3 separate regions of the Homo sapiens genome follow, and all the other regions are linked to region 1. The links are contacts of gene promoters, found by promoter capture Hi-C in human tissues and cell types (Jung and others, 2019). All regions are on one chromosome and are shown on one strand. The core of a region is centred on a gene start or on the middle of the fragment in contact, and the rest is flanking DNA. Distances in the headings are between cores, read along the strand shown. Region 1 holds the start of MTFMT (mitochondrial methionyl-tRNA formyltransferase). Region 2 overlaps ZNF609 (zinc finger protein 609). Region 3 overlaps DPP8 (dipeptidyl peptidase 8).

What was found. Contacts are between HindIII fragments. The study calls those that stand out against the background at their distance.
Region 2: a contact is called between a fragment that was not itself captured here and the fragment with the promoter of MTFMT in region 1, in 1 of the 25 tissues and cell types used here (spleen).
Region 3: a contact is called between a fragment that was not itself captured here and the fragment with the promoter of MTFMT in region 1, in 1 of the 25 tissues and cell types used here (adrenal gland).

The regions. Positions count from the first base shown.
Region 1 is chr15:65,027,793-65,031,413 of GRCh38, reverse strand. It overlaps MTFMT (mitochondrial methionyl-tRNA formyltransferase), which reads left to right and starts at 1,775. Exons shown (of 9, transcript NM_139242.4): 1 at 1,775-2,009. The coding sequence starts at 1,801. RefSeq lists silencers at 1,623-1,812, 2,063-2,362. The HindIII fragment of the contact is 8,500 bases long and covers 1-3,621 here.
Region 2 is chr15:64,679,128-64,682,676 of GRCh38, reverse strand. ZNF609 (zinc finger protein 609) reads right to left here. Exons shown (of 10, transcript NM_015042.2): 7 at 2,317-2,492; 8 at 1,815-2,031; 9 at 1,290-1,368; 10 at 1-985. The coding sequence ends at 1,295. Among named protein-coding and RNA genes, the nearest start is that of OAZ2, 22 kb to the left of the region's middle. The HindIII fragment of the contact is 5,319 bases long and covers 1-3,549 here.
Region 3 is chr15:65,454,362-65,458,262 of GRCh38, reverse strand. DPP8 (dipeptidyl peptidase 8) reads left to right here. Exons shown (of 20, transcript NM_130434.5): 16 at 1,892-2,038; 17 at 3,848-3,901. Among named protein-coding and RNA genes, the nearest start is that of IGDCC4, 33 kb to the right of the region's middle. The HindIII fragment of the contact is 4,987 bases long and covers 1-3,901 here.

The DNA of each region.
Region 1 (3,621 bases), core at 526-3,025:
CACACCACTGCACTCCAGCCTGGGTGACAGAGTGAGACTCTGTCTCAAAAACAAAAACAAAAACAACAGCAACAACAAAAAAAAACAGGGGCACATGGAGAAAGACAAGAAATCTAAGGAGGCAAGAGCTTGAAGCTTCAGGGCGAATGTCTGAACTTCGTGTTGAAGAATGGATACCATTTAGAGATGAAGAGATGTGGGAAGGCAGTCTAGGAAGGGAGCATGAGCAAAGGCACAGGAGCAGGGATGTGCAGAGCTCATAATTTAGGAAAAAGGACTGGTCCAGGGTCACTGGGTTTAAGACTGTGTGATGGGAAAAGGTGGTGAGACGGCAGGGCGCAGTGGCTCATGCCTGTAATCCTAGCACTTTGGGGGGCCAAGGCAGGCAGATCACCTGAGGTCAGGAGTTCAAGACCAGCCTGGTCAACATAGTGAATCCCATCTCTACTAAAAATACAAAAATTAGCTAGGTGTAGTGGCGCATGTCCCAGCTACTTGGGAGGCTGAGGCAGGAGAATCGCCTGAACCTGGGAAGCAGCGGTTGCAGTGAGCCAAGATCGCCCGCCACTGCCCTCCAGCCTGAAAAACAGAGCGAGACTCCATCTCAAAAAAAAAAAAAAAAAAAAAAAAAATGGTGGTGAGAATAAGATTAGAACAAAATTCGGTTTCAGTCTCTGCTCAGATCCTGTTTCATGGATGTCTGACTCCACTCAAGGAGGCTTTGGGGATACAGAATCTAAGCACTAACGGTCCTCGGAGGTCTTCTGGGGATAAGGTTCCCTGTCCATTTCCCTAGGAATCACCTCTATGGTATCCTTCTGTGTGCAAAGGAACCCACAGGGGAGGAGTAAAGATGGAGCCTTCGATTCAAGAAAGTAACTGCAGACAAGTAACTAAGGCTCAGTTTCCTCAGGTGCAAAATGTGGGTAATTGACTTGCCTAATACATAGGATCGCTGAGAAGGCCCAACGGCTAGGATTACAAGCGTTGGAATTACAAGAGTCCCACCTCTGCTCTGTCCTTTACTAGCTGTGTGGACCTTATACACTGGTAAGTCCTTAATTTCACGGAGCTTCAGTTTCTCTTCAGTAACATATTTGTAATAGTATCTACCTCCTAAGGTTGATCTGATGATTAACCAGAATAATGAATATAAAATGCTTAGCAAAAACGTGGCACGGAGTGAAGTACTCAGCAAATATTGGTTATAATGGTTGAGGAAATGACATGCACTATATACATGAGGTTTCATTGTCTGAAAACATGCACGATTTGTTACCAAAAGACTTATCCTGGGCCGGCGCAGTGGCTCACGCCTGTAACCCCAGCACTTGGGGAGGCCAAGGCAGGAGGATTGCTTGAGACCTGGGCAACATAGTGAGATACTCTCTCTACAAAAAATCAGCCCAGCATGGTGATGTGTGCCTGTACCCCAGCTACTCCGGAGGCTGAGGTGGGAGGATCCCTTGAGCCCAGGAGCAGTGAGGTTGCAGTAAGCAGAGATCGCGCCACAGCACTCCAGCCTGCGCGACAGAGCAAGACCCTTTCTGAAATAAATAAATAAATAAATAAATAAATAAATAAAGCGATTTTAAAAAGAAAAGAAAGACTTATTCTGGAGGATTGGCTACATAGTGCAAATAAACAGAACAAAAATCTAGGGCCGCTGTAGCGGGCAAATTCGTTCACCAACTCCAACCAGACCCCGCCTCCAAGCAGGCAAGCCCCGCCCTCCCCAGGCTGCACCCTTGTCCCCGCCCCGATGCGCCTGCGCAGGGCCGGCCGCCGGCGGCCGAGGCGATGAGGGTGTTGGTGCGGCGCTGTTGGGGTCCTCCGCTGGCTCATGGCGCCAGGCGTGGGAGGCCGAGTCCCCAGTGGCGAGCACTGGCCCGACTCGGCTGGGAGGACTGCCGGGACTCCAGAGTCCGCGAGAAGCCTCCCTGGCGGGTGCTCTTCTTCGGCACGGACCAGTTCGCCCGCGAGGCGCTGCGGGCGCTGCACGCCGCCAGGTACCCGGGCCAGGGATCCGGGGACCCGGCCGCTGAAGGCCTCCAGGCCGCGCCCGGGCGGCCGGCCCCGAGGGTTTTGGACTTCTGGTTGCGGAAAGCATGGGCGGCAGAGCGGTGTGGGCCCAGATCTCGGCGTCTTCTGGCTCCCAGAAGGTGCGCCATTCCCGCCGGTCAGCCTTTGGGCGCCTAGTACCTGCGGTCTGCGCCCCTCACTCCCCGCCGCCTCTGTGGGTTCTCCAGGCGCCCTGCCACCCACGCTGTGCCGAGCTGGGGCTGGGCGCTCTGCCTGCATCCCCCGGGCCAGTCCCACGGCCTCCCTGCCCGTTTTGAGTGTGGGGAATCCGTGGCTCAGAGAGGTTATGCGATTGCCCAAGGTCATCAGCCGAGGTGGTTCGGACTAAAACCAGGTCCCACTTCAAAGTTCCCTGCTTTGCAGTTCCTCCTGACCCCCATCCTTCGGCACACCCGTGTCTCGCTCTTTTGCTCCCCCTGTGCTCCTTGTATACAAGGACATAGTCCAAAAACGACCTGTTTTCAAAAGAATAAATTTATAAATCAGAACTGTTAGGTATACATTTAGTATTCATAATATTTAACAAGTTTTGTTTACTGGGAAAGAAAATTATTTGAAATCCAACCAGTCCTGAGAGTCCATGGTATGTGGTGGCAATACCGTATATACTTCTCTGCCTCTTTTTCCCAATTAATGTTTTTTATTTCCCCATTCTGTTTTTTTCTGACGCAGTCCTCCTTCCACTTTTTTTGGTCATCTCCATCTCCTTTTCCCTACAGATACTTCACAGCAGCCCCTCATGTATTGAATCCTTCGTCAATCCCCTGTGTGGTTTTCCTTCCTCCACACACCCCTCTGTGCACACACCCGGAAGGAAACCCCATGTTCCCTTTGCACACCCTTCATGGGCTGCTGTTGTCACATGCGTCTCTCACTGCATTTATACATTTATACCAACACTTTTTTTGTTTGTTTCTGAGGCGAGGTCTCGCGCTGTCCCCCAGGCTGGAGTGCAGTGGCCGGCTCATAGCTCACTGCAGCCTCGACCTCAAAGATCAAGCAATCATCCCATCTCAGCTTCCAGAGTAGCTAGGACTACGGGCGTGCACCACCACGCCTGATTTTTAAATTTTTTGTAGAGGCGGGTTTTCACCATGTTGCCCAGGCTTATCTCAAACTCCTGGGATCAAGTGATCCTCTCACCTTGGCCTCCCAAAGTGCTGAGATTACAGGCCTGAGCCATCATTCCTGGCCTATCCTGATACTTCTGATGATGCTTCACTTGGCAGCTCCATTACTCCTGTGCTTTCTTTATAGTGCCCCAGGACATACTCCTCATAACTCCTCAACGTGTACATACAATACCTGTTTAATAAATGTACCCCCCTGGGTACTAGAATGCTATGCAGCAGGTAGAAAGGATGAGGTAGTGCTACAGGTACTGCCATGGAATGATAGCCATGTTATGTATTTTTGTTTGTTTTTTAAAAAGTAGTGTTTGAATGGCATCATGGTTATGGTAAAAAAGTTCCATGGATTCAAAGGATATACAGTGAAAAGTTACTTCCTTCCACCTCTGTTTAGCAGTTCCCAGTTCCT
Region 2 (3,549 bases), core at 113-2,612, 350 kb after region 1:
CTGGCAGACTCCAAGGTTCCCCAAGCTGGGGGGAATACTAGTTTATCTGCCTGAGGCTTAAGAGCCAAGCAGTGGAAAAGAAGAGGCAAGACCAGTGTGGGGATCCCCCTGGGAAAGGCACCAAGGGGTTAGGAGGGAAGGGAAAAGGGCAAGGAGTTGGGGAATAAGAAGCAGCAGGACTTAGTGGGGACGCAGGTTCTACTTCACAGACGTCATTCATGCTCCAGCACCAGCTTGCTCCCAGTGTCCCTGGGGAGCCCTGTGCTGGTGTTGGAACCCCTGCCCCCTGCCTCACAGGCAGCTCAAGGCCATGTTGGGGCAGATGCCTTGGTCTTCCTTTCCAGGCTAGGTTGTGAGCGTTTATATGTGCTCATGTAAATGGGGAGAAGTCTCCACATTTGAAGACCTTGTTTTCACAATTATGTAGAAAACAACCCCCAATTTCTTTCCTGAGATTCTAGTTCCTCCACATGCTGCCAATTCCCAGGGTGCAAAGCACTAGGGAGATGCAGAATCTGGTGATGGTGGTAATGATGGTGAGGGGTATGGCTGCTGTGCTGTCTTCAGACCTTACCCAGTGCTTGGGGGTGGGGGTCCCTCCCTGGTGGGCGGGGGGGCTGGTACTGCTCCAGCAGCAGACCAAGGGCTTGGGGAACAGAGCAGTGGCTTCTCTGGGCTGAGGCCATGTTCCCCTGGTTGCTTCCCGTGCCTTCATCTCCACAGAGGCCACAATAGTCATAACTGTGGCTGAGAGAATAAATATTTTTGCTAAGTACCAGCTCTCCAGCTCCTGAGGAAGAGGTAGGGTCAGGTAGTCCGGAGGTCTGGTGGAGGTGAGATAGCCAAGGGTCTGCCTTCAGTCATGGTGGAAACGGCAAACAGGATGATCAACACCATTTAACTGATGTCTAAACGGCACCTTCAGCACCTCCTTGGGTAAGCCAGTCCGGGCCCGTGAAGCTGACTTTATCCGGGCACTTGGTGTCTGCAAGGGAAACATGGACAGATAACCAGGCACTCAGCCTGTTGGTAAAAAAACCACAAGGTGGCACTCCAAGAAAATGAATTGTAGGAGTGGCCAGTACTGGTCCCTAGGGGACACTGTGTTCCACAGGTCCTCTCAGATGCACATGGCTTCACGGGAGACTCTTGTACAAGAGGCTTGGCCAGGGTTCCATGGATTCCAGACTGCTGACCCCTCATAGCTATTTCTCACCTAGGGATTCTGTGATCCAGGTAGCAACTATCCCGGCTTTATGTGTTGCCCCAAATTAATAAAAGTGACTTACCATTCTCACCTCCTGGGGGGTGGGTAGAGTGAGGGAGTTGAGCCTTGTTGGCTGGCAACAATGGCTGTAGAAGAAAGCCCTGAATAAGCAGGAGAACATGTTAGTGTAGCACTCACAGAAACCTTCCATTAATCTTTTTCCCTGAGTTTTGGGGTGCTGACAGAAAAAAAAATCTGATACTCAGCCAGATATATTTGCTGGAGATAGATAATAAGGCTCTATTTCTCAGCTGATTGTTTCTCTTTGCCTTTGGGGAACACCTGTTCCATATTCTTCTGACTATCAAGGCCAGTATTCTGGAGGAATTTAAGAGTCCCCAAACTCCAAGGGAGGAATAAATATCATATGCTTTAATGACTGCAGGAGGTTAGGACTGTGCACAGATTAGAAGCTCAAAAAAAAAAAATTAAAAAAGGATTCTTATGAGGCAGGTAGGAGGGTCCTAGCTGTGGACATTACTACTGGGATGAAGATAAACAAAACAAAACAAGACAAAACAACAGGTGGTAGGGAAAACAGGCTTACCTGCTGCATAGGGTAAGTTGTACTGTGCTGGGAGCAATGAGTACCCCAAGTGGTGGTGGTGGTGGTGTGTGGACATCAGGCGCTGGGAAGGAGAGGTGCGGGGCCGGTCAACACTCCGTTCACCCCCACTTGCTCCCCCGACGCTGCTACAGCTGCCACCACCCCCAACCACCCCACAGCCTCCTCGATCTCTCTCCTGAGAAGTTTTATCACTTATCTGGAAAGGAAACCAGAGACACAAAAGCACTATAGTGAGACACATATGCATACAACCACACACACACACACACACACACACACAAGTGAGATGCCCAGGGTGCCACCTTATGACCCCTAAAAGTGCAAGATACCTAAGAATAAAGAAGATGCCCTGGGGGCTGCCAGTGTCAAGTCAGCCAAGCTGCACTGTGGTCAGGACCTGAACTTGCCCACCTTCTCCCAGACCCTGGATCTGGCCTTACTAGTCTTTGGGTAACAGCCAGCATCACTGTACTTTTCTTACCGTGGGAGACTTGCTCTTGTAGTGACTGGCATGCTGCTGCAAGATGTCCAGGGCTTTGGACTCTGAGCTGGATTTACAAGTCACACTGGGGCTGGCTCGTGCCTTGTCAGCATCTTCACCACCTGAGACCTTGCTGCCATATGGGGAAAAAGAGTAGCTGGAAGGCAGGTAGGAACCTGTGGAAGGAGAAATCAAACAGTCAAAGAGATGGGAGAGGTAGAGGAAACTCTGCTTTAGTGAGCTTGATTGGGTGGGCATCAGCTTTCCTAGGCACAGGCTGAGGTATTTTCTAACATAGTGTCTTTGGCTGAGACTGTTGGCTTGACCTTTCTTTACTGAGCTCTACAGGAAAAATTAGCTAAGGGATATTAGGAACATGGCCCTGTTTCCTGCTTCCAACTTCCATAGATCTGATACTGTTCTTTGAACTGGTCTCAGATTCATCTTGGAGAAGTGATATGATAAAGTGGAAAGATCACACTTATCTGGAGTCAGAGCCTTGGGCTCAAAACCTTACTCTGAGACTTACTAGCTTGGTAACCTTGAGCAAATAAATAACTGTTTTGAGCTTCAGTTTCTTCATCATCAAAAATGAAGATATCAATACTTATTACTTAAGGTGATAGGGAGGATTAAAAAAGATAATGTCTATAAATCTCAGAGGACAGCGCCTGGCTCAGGGCGAGCACTCAACAAATGCAACTATGATTTTTATATTGATGGGTGTGAGTGACAGGGATAAAGGAACACCTCAAGGGTAAGAAATTTCCTATTTCTGTTTGAAAAGCTTATTTCTATTTAGAGTGTGCTTTATAATAATGTCACCAGAATGTTGAGACTATTTAGGCTGCTGTAGGAAGCTGGAGGCTCTAAGGAGTGAGGCTAAAGCAGTGCCCTTCCACCCCAGAAGCACCCCACATGGTTCTTTGGGCAACAAAACGAGTAGAGTTAAATAAGAGCATTTTCTTCTAACAAGTTAAAAAACATTTAAGGCCGGAGCGGTGGCTCATGCCTGTATCTCAGCACTTTGGGAGGCCAAGGCAGCCGGATCACCTGAGGTCGGGAGTTCAAGACCAGCCTGACCAACACGGAAGAACACCGTCTCTACTAAAAATACAAAATTAGCCAGGAGTGGTGGCACATGCCTGTAATCCTAGCTACTTGGGAAGCTGAGGCAGGAGAATCGTTTGAACCCAGGAGGTGGAGGCTGTGGTGAGCCGAGATCACGCCACT
Region 3 (3,901 bases), core at 500-2,999, 430 kb before region 1:
TTGTGTAACAAATACTTATGTTTCCTAGAATGTGCCAGACACTGTTCTGCAAATAAAAATCCAAAGAGATCAGGCTAGATGATAACAGGACACAGGTTTTGAAGAATTGATACTGAAGGAGACTTTTGGATTCCCAGTGCCAAAAGGCATTATATTTAAGTGTTCATATCAAGCAATTGAGACCATCTTCTATACATGGTAGCAGACAAAGAAGTGAGGTGATTTTCTTTAAATGTTCATATTCGTGTACTTCTCTGCCTAGTATTTCTTCTTTCAGCACTCTCCCTTTAAAGACAAATATCTTTAGCCAGGTGCTGTGGCACACACATGTAATCCCAGCTATTCAGAGGCTGAGGTGGGAGGATTACTTGAGCCCAGGAGTTCGAGGCTGTAGTGAACTATGATTGTACCACCACACTCCAGCCTGGGGTACAGAGTGAGACACCATCTCTTAAGTAAATAAATAAATACAAGTGCCTTTACTCACCAAACGCCCTCTTCCCAAGGTAGAAATGGGAAAAAAACATTATTCTCCTGTTTCTCTTTTTCATTCATTCATTTAGCAAACAGGTATTAAGTTCCTGTGATGTGCTAGGTACTGTTCTAGGCAGTGAGGATACCCAGTGAACATGTCAGACTAATATTCCACTTCATGGACCATAAAGGGAAAATAATAAGCAAACATAAAAAGATATGATGGTGAGACCCCATCTCTACAAAAAAATTTAAAAATTAGCCAGGCATGGTGGTGCACACCTGTAGTCCCAGCTACTTGAAGGCTGAGGCAGGAGGATCACTTGAGCCCAGGAATTTGAGGCAGCACTGAGCTATGATTGTACCACTGCACTCCAGCCTGGAGACCCCATCTCTTAAAAAAAAAAAGTATGACTTTTTTTGTTTGTTTTTTGAGACAGAGTCTCACTGTGTTGCCCAGGCTGCAGTGCAGTGGTGTGATCTTTGCTCACTGCAACCTCTCTGCCTTCTGGGTTCAAGCAATTCTCATGCCTCTGCCTCCCGAGTGACTGGGATCACAGGCACTCCCCACCATGCCCAGCTAATTTTTTGTTTTTGGTAGAGACGGGGTTTCGCCATGTTGGCCAGGCTGGTCTCGAACTCCTGACCTCAGGTGATCCACCCGCTTCAGCCTCCCAAAGTGCTGGGATTACAGGTGTGAACCACCACGCTCAGCCCAAAAGTATGACTTTTTATAATGGAAGTTCTATGAAGATTTGCTGGGAAAGGGGATGGCAAGACCTCTCCTGAGGTTACAAACATTGAGAAGGAATGAGCCATGCAAAAGATGTGAGAGAAAAGCATTCCAGACACAGAAAACGGTAAATGTCAAGTTCCTGGGGCTAGAACCAACTTGATAGTGTTGACAATAAGGTTAGAGTACAGTGCACTTGGAGGGAAATGGTATGAGATGAGGTCAGAGGTAGCCAAAGATCTCAAGGGCCATGTAGACTTATTCTGAAGGGTAATGGTAGGCAGTGGAGGAAGCCAAGCAGCAGTCATATCTGATGTCTGATGGGGAGGAAAGTTTTTCTTATTTGTCCTTGTAACTGTCATTCGAATAGCACAGTTCTTCAGGGTAGAAGTAATCAATTTAGTAACTTTTTATATGGGGTGGGTTGATTCACTTATATGTAATTAATATTTAAGTTAGAATTTTAAAGCCTATGGTTGTTCAGTAATTGCCCTGAACTTGAGTGTGAAGTTAAGCAAGAAGCAAATAAACAGACTTGTTAATTTAAAAAGAAATGACTTAAAAAATTACATTTTAAAGGTAAAATAATAGTGAAATTAAGCTTTCTATTTCTTGCAATGCCCAGCCGCTCTTGGGTTTTTATATGCTTCCATATGATAAACTGAAGTTGTGTTTCTTCCTCAGGTGCAGTTGGTGAATAATCGGTTTAAAGGAGTCAAGTATTTCCGCTTGAATACCCTAGCCTCTCTAGGTTATGTGGTTGTAGTGATAGACAACAGGGGATCCTGTCACCGAGGGCTTAAATTTGAAGGCGCCTTTAAATATAAAATGGTGTGTGAGCATAAAACACTTTTCTTTTACAGACATTTACATTTTCTGGTCCATTGTTTGGTGTGAAACCCTTGAAAGAGAGTTGGGGGAAGGGGCTATGAATGAGTGAGTGAGAGTGTATGTGTTAGAGTTTGGGGGTGGGAGAGAAGATGCAACTTGATGTACACCCTACTTATACGTAACTTTGGGGAACTGAGATAGAGCCACTTGTACATAGAAATATCCTCTCTGTTTTGTATGTCCACTTGGGTAGAATTTAGCACCATTTAGCTTTCAGCATCCTGTACACAGTTGAGGAATAATTGAGATTTGTTCTGTCCTCTGTGAAGAGGGAATCCAACTGGTTAGTGCCTTCCTTGTGACAAGCCTCTTTCTCTCTACAGGAAGCTTTAAATGCTACCTTTTAGAGATGCCCCATGTCCTTTCTGCTGCTTTGGGAAATGATGAGAATCCGATGTTCCTTTTGCACAGTAAGGCAGTTACTGTGTTTGCCAGTGTTATTGGACATGCTGAGTAAGACATGGGGATTTTCTCCCACAGCCAGTTCTTTGACCTTATGTTGTATTCTCATGTAAGTTTTTTTGTTTTTATTTTTGTTTTTGGCTCAGTGAAGTGAGATTGCGTGCACTGGCAGGCCTAGTAATATAGACAAGGTGGTGGTGGTAGGAATTAGGACTTTAAAGAAGTAGTATGTTCAGTTCCTAGAGGTAGTATAATAGGGAAATAAGAAGACAGGGCCTCAAGAGCAATTCCTTCTGCTTTACTGCACTAAAAATTAAAAAGGAGAAGTAGGCCAGGTGCAGTGGCTCACGCGTGTAATCCCAGCACTTTGGGAGGCCAAGGCAGGAGGATCACTTGAGCCCAGGAGTTCAAGACCAACCTGGGCAACATAATGAGACCCCACCTCTACAAATGAGTTAAAAAATTAGCTGGGCATGGTGGCGCATGCCTGTGGTCCCAGCTACTTGGGAGGCTTGAGGTGGGAGGATAACTTGAGCCCGGGAGGTTGAGCTACAGTGATCCCTGGTCACACTACTGCACTCCAACCTGGACAGCAGAGTGAGACCATGTCTCCAAAAAAATAGATAAAAAGGAAAAGTAAAATTAATTACTTAAGGGGCTAATTTTTTGTCTTTGGGTATAGGAAGGCTTGTTACAAGGAAGATGCTGACCTCTTAGCAGACAACAGAACAAATGGAAATGGGAAATACCCAAATAGCAAGGGACAGTTTGAGTAGCAGTAGGAGGGAGCTTTATGACTAAGTGGTAACTAAACTCTAGGACAGGCTAGCAACAGAAGATATAGGCCCCTATCTCCAAATAGATTTTTAAAAAATTTGAGGGAGAGGGGGCAACAGAATCTCAGTTGGTAATAAACTCTAATCTAAAAAAACCTACGGGGCCGGGTGTGGTGGCTCACGCCTGTAATCCCAGCAATTTGGGAGGCCGAGGCGGGTGAATCACTTGAGGTCAGGAGTTCGAGACTAGCCTGGCCATAGTGAAACTCCGTCTCTACTAAAAAATACAAAAATTAGCTGGGCATGGTGGCGCATGCCTGTGATCCCAGCTACTTGGGAGGCTGAGGCAGGAGAATCACTTGAATCCACCAGGCGGAGGTTGCAGTGAGCCGAGACTGCGTCATTGCACTCCAGCCTGGGTGACAGAGTGAGACTCCATCTCAAAAAATAAATAAAATAAAAATTAAAACACCTACAGGTATTTTTAGTAAAAACATTTATCATCTTTGAAAGCACTCTTACGAGACTTTTATTCATCAGAATCAGTGAAATGTTCTCCCTTTTTTGACAGGGTCAAATAGAAATTGACGATCAGGTGGAAGGACTCCAATATCTAGCTTCTCGA